Linked DNA regions of Homo sapiens: region 2 is linked to region 1. Evidence: promoter capture Hi-C in 16 types of primary human blood cells and fetal thymus (Javierre and others, 2016). All regions are on one chromosome and are shown on one strand. Each heading gives the region's core, a stretch centred on a gene start or on the middle of the fragment in contact. The rest is flanking DNA. Distances are from core to core; before and after follow the strand shown. Region 1 holds the start of TXK (TXK tyrosine kinase). Region 2 has its middle 50 kb from the start of SLC10A4.

Region 1 (2,521 bases), core at 12-2,511:
CCATATGAGTTTCTGGCAAGATTTAAACTTTCAAAGGCACAATTTTCTTATTGGCTAGATAAGAATAACAATTTTCACCTTGCCAGTTTGTAGTGAAGATTTCAGATAATGAATATAAAGGAACTGGTATAGACCATGGCCCATAGTAGGTGCTCAATAAATACCTTTATAAAGAAACAAACACATTGCAATTCTGATATGACGGCTGCCTTCTTATTTAGAAGACTATTCTGCTTGGTTTTTTTTTTTATTCTAATTTCTTTGGATTTATAAGCATCCCCCACAGCTCTTTCAAACCAAGGATCTTCACAGATAACAGTGTCTAGGGAATCTTTCTCTGTTCTCCTAAAACAAGCACTTATTTTTAATGATGGTCTTATATTCTATAAAAATATTAAAATAACATCTTCATATGTAGTATTATATATGAGGGAAAGAGACATTTGAGCCAGTGTTCACACTTGACCATGTTCACACTTTTAACCAGGTAGAGACTCGTGACTTTGACTCTTATTTTGGCCTTTACTCAGGCTCTGACTGCAGATAAGAATCAGTTTTGCCTAAATTTCAATTGCTTGGGAAAGGTCCTCGATAACGGAAGTCTACATAGAATTGTGAATAAATACCCCTGTGAAAATAAAGGTTAAGTCTATATGTTTACTTGATAAAGCAGATAATTTCAGAGTATAAACACAGTTGTGTTTTGACTTCTCTTCCTTTTGCCTTAAATATAGATATTTATTTGTGTGTGTGTGTATGTGTGTGTATTTATATATATATAAAGTTGCCCACTGTGATCCACCACTGCTGGAGCAAATCCAGAACTAGAACTTGGTCTCCTGGCCTTCAGCCCAGAGCTCATTACAGTCTCATTCTAAAAACAAGTACTTCATACTGATTGCATTTCTACACACACATATGCAGATTTCTGGACACTCTTTCTGTTTTTCTTTCATTTATGTTCTCAATGCTGAACCTTTATTAGAATTACATCATCACTGTGGTTCTTTAAATAAGAAACAAAACTCTGTCACAACATCTGAGGAAATTATCTTTTAATGTCCCCAAGCTCTATGCCTTGGAAAAAAAAAACTTCCTCTGCTGTTCAAGAATAACAGGCCCCAGAACAAGCCCCAAAAATAAATGACAAAGCCCATCTTACTCACAGGAGGAAAGGATCATGGTAGCCCCTTCTGCGGGGAGCACACAACAGTCTTCAGTTCTTCTGCGGTGCTCTACTCACAAAAACACATCTTTCAACTGAAATCATAGTTCGCTCAAGATGTTTCTCACGGGCAGAGTTAACCCCACCTATTTTCCTGTTCTGAAAACCTCAGAAGAGTATAAATGACAACCAATGGCATATATAAGAAAGCTCAGTAATCTCCATCCCAATCTCTGAGGGTATCTGCTATTAGTCTCTCATCCCCAAAGGTGTGGGTGACTCGCAAACATCATTTTCAAGAAATCACAAAATTTTGGTAAAAGGCACCTTTAAAATTATCAAATCAAACTGCCCTCTCTGGACTGGGAAGGAAATGAAGGCACAGACAGAATAAGGGACTTGCCCAAGGCCACACCGTGAGTGGCAGAAACAATTAGATTCTAGGCTCTGGAATATTGAGTTTAGAATGTTCCATCCTCCCACTCAGCAGACACTTTATTTGGGGGAAGTCAATCTAGTAATAACCCTAAAATGTGATTGGGGGATGGCTGAGAAATATAAAAACACCAACAATACAAAACACACTTGGGAGTTTCACTTCATCCCACTGGAAAGCATAACCATGTGTCAACTAATTAACAGAGCAACTTTAATGAAGACACAGCATATTCTAATCGCCCTTCCAATTTCCTGGTTTAGATTAAGGTCTCCTTAGCATTCTGGGTGATGACTGTTATTTTTACTTCACCTTTTGCCTTTGTTATGCTTTCGTATAAAACTTTTTTTCTAAGTCTTAGTGAAAAATATTTAAAGATTTTTGAAGGAAATGTTGACAAATGTTGCCAGGTGCTATCTATCTTGTTTTCCCATAAAAAGCATACACTGACCATTAGGACAGGGACTCTATCTTCTCCTCACTCTCTTTCATACCACCTAGTACTTCCCGTAGCTCCTCAAGGTGAAAAGGGAAGTATGGGATGGGAGGAGGGAAGGTCAGGAAGGAAGGAGAAAAGGCTGACAGTGATAGTAAGGTAGAGTGTGCCAGGACCGACTCCTTCAATGAGCTACAAGTCAGTTAAAAGTTGTGCATGGTTAGCAACCAAAATGCCCATCAATGATAGGCTGGATAAAGAAAATGTGGTACATATACACCGTGGAATATTATGCAGCTATACAGAATGAAATCATGTCCTTTGCAGGGACATGGATGGAACTGGAAGCCGTTATCCTTAGCAAAGTAATGCAGGAACAGAAAACCAAACACCACATGTTCTCACTTATAAGTGGGAACTGAACCATGAAACACATGGACACAGGGAGGGGAACAACACATACTGGGGCCTGTTGGGGAGGGCA
Region 2 (2,521 bases), core at 17-2,516, 300 kb after region 1:
ATCTTATTTTTTTTTAACCAAACTCTTCCTCTTTTCCATAGCACTTATCACCTCCAAGCATCCCATATAATTAACTCATTATTATGCCAGCTTTCTCTTCTCCCTCCACTCGTGTGCATGCCCTTGCATGTGGGCACACACACCCACACACACCCGCATGCATGTATACCATATATGGTTCATGGAGGCAGAGATCATTTTTGTTTATCAACTCTTGGCAAATACCTAGACCAGTGCCTGGCACATGGTAGGCACACAAATATTTACTGAATGAAAGCATTGCTGATGGGAGTCTCTTTAGAGAGCAATTTGAAACACAACAAAATTTAAAACATACCTTTGGCCTGGCTACGGTGGCTCACACCTATAATCCCAAGTTTGAGAGGCCACGGCTGGAGGATTGCTTGAGACCAGAAGTTTTTTGAGACCAACTTAGGCAACATAGTAGACCCCATCTCTACAAAAAAATAAATTTAAAAAATGTACATTTGGACCCATTGATTCCACTTCTAATTATCTTATAGGTGTACCTGTCTATGTGCTTGTGTAGATAAGAATACAAGAATATGTATATAGTAGTATTTGTGGACAAACAAGGCTGGACTTAAATGTCCCTCAATAGGAAACTGGTTAAATTATGAAACATTCACTGAAATATTAGGCACCTATTACCAAGATCAAGATATAATAGCTCTATGTGTAATGATATGGAAAGACACCCACGATGCATCATGAAAAGTAAAAACAAGGTGTCAAAATGCCATTTGGAATAAAAAGGTTTGTGTGTCATATTTGCTCTGTTAACAATGACTGCTTCTGAAGGGATACAAAAGAAACAGGTAACTGGTTACCTGTGAAGACGGGAGTGGGAGACACAGCTAACAGTGGTAAGGAGATAAGGAACCAGCATTTTACCTGAGTATTTTAATTCTTTTTTCTTTTTTTTTTTTCTTTTTTTTTTTAAGAGACGGGGTCTGTTGGCCAGGCTGGAGTGCAGCGTGATCATAGCTCACTACAGCCTTGAACTCCTGGGCTCAAGCGATCCTCCCACGTCAGTCAGCCTCCTGAGTAGCTGGGACTAGGGGCGCACACCCACCCCACCTAGCCCTGTTTGAATTCTTTATCATGTCCATATGTATACCCACTGCTTTTTCAAACAGTAAAAGAGAAATATAACCGCTGTTTTCCTTGCTCCCCTCAAAAAACTTGTTTTACTTAATGAAATGAGTTCAATCTAGTCTGTGAATGCACTCTTCATTGTTTCAGCCTTCTCCATTCATGGCATCATGAGTTTTGTATTTGCACCACGAGAAGCATTTTCATGAATTTTACTCTAATATTATGCATTTGGCTTTATCAAGGGTTTATGAAGAACAAAAGCTGCTTCTGCCTCTGGTGTAAAATTATCAAGAGCATTGTTCCTTATGTGACTCAATATCCCCTATATAAAGGCCCATGTGAGAATTTTTTTCTAGAATGCAGTATCTGGAAAAATCATTGTCTCTTTTGAGGAACTGGGGCTCTCCTTCAATACAAGACCTATGTGATTTATCATGTTTGCATTTTTGTCCCTGTTGCCCGAAAGTTTAGATCCATATATGACGCTCAATTGCAGCAACTGAATTTATTTTTTTTTTAAGCCGGTTTTGTCCCCAAAAGGATTTAAGGTGGTTTATAGAAATATGAGATGAAGGTGTGGTTTTTTGAGTCTCGTTCTGTCACCCAGGCTGGTGTGCAGTGGCACGATCACAACTCCCTGTAACCTTGGACTTCTGGGCTCACAATCCTCCCACTTCAATCTCCCCAGTTGCAGAATTACAGGCATGAGCCACTGCACCTGGCAAAGGTGTCTTGTTTGTTTATATATTTGTTTATATAATTTCAACTTTTATTTTAGATTCAGAGGGTACATGTGCAGATTTTTTACATGAGAGTCTTGCATAATGCTGGAATTTGGGGTTCTATTTAACCCATCACCCAAACAGCGAACATAGTATCCAGTAGGTAGTTTTTCAGCCTCTCCCCTTTTGGAATCCCCAATGTCTACTGTTCCCATCTTTTTATCCATATGTACCCATTGTTTAGCTCCCACTTATATATGAGGACATGCGGTATTTTCTGTTTCTGAGTTAATTCACTTAGGATGATGGCCTCCAGCTGTGTCCATGTGACTGCAAAGGACATGATTTTTATTCTTTTTTATGGCTGTGTAGTATTCTGTGGTGTGTGTGTATCACATTTGCTTTATCCAGTCATTTGTTGATGGACACTTAGGTTGATTTCATTTATATAATTTATATATTTTAATAATATAAATATATTAAATATATAAATGCTATTGTGAATAGTGCTGCGATGAACATACAAGTGCATGTATCTTTTTGATAGAACGATTTCTTTTGAGTAAACACCCAGTAGTGGGATTGCCAGATTGAATCAAACTATAAAAATCCTAGAAAACCTGGGAAAAACTCTTCTGGACATTGGCTTAGGCAAAGAATTTATGACTGAGATCTCAAAA

The links. The method cuts DNA at HindIII sites, captures the fragments that hold promoters and counts their contacts. A CHiCAGO score of 5 or more calls a contact.
Region 2: a fragment that was not itself captured here is called in contact with the fragment with the promoter of TXK in region 1 in 1 of 17 cell types (megakaryocytes); the score reaches 5.2 in megakaryocytes.

The regions. Positions count from the first base shown.
Region 1 is chr4:48,132,989-48,135,509 of GRCh38, forward strand. It overlaps TXK (TXK tyrosine kinase), which reads right to left and starts at 1,262. Exons shown (of 15, transcript NM_003328.3): 1 at 1,167-1,262. The coding sequence starts at 1,182. RefSeq lists a silencer at 704-998. The HindIII fragment of the contact is 7,086 bases long and covers 1-2,521 here.
Region 2 is chr4:48,431,976-48,434,496 of GRCh38, forward strand. No RefSeq gene overlaps it. Among named protein-coding and RNA genes, the nearest start is that of SLC10A4, 50 kb to the right of the region's middle. The HindIII fragment of the contact is 5,888 bases long and covers 1-2,521 here.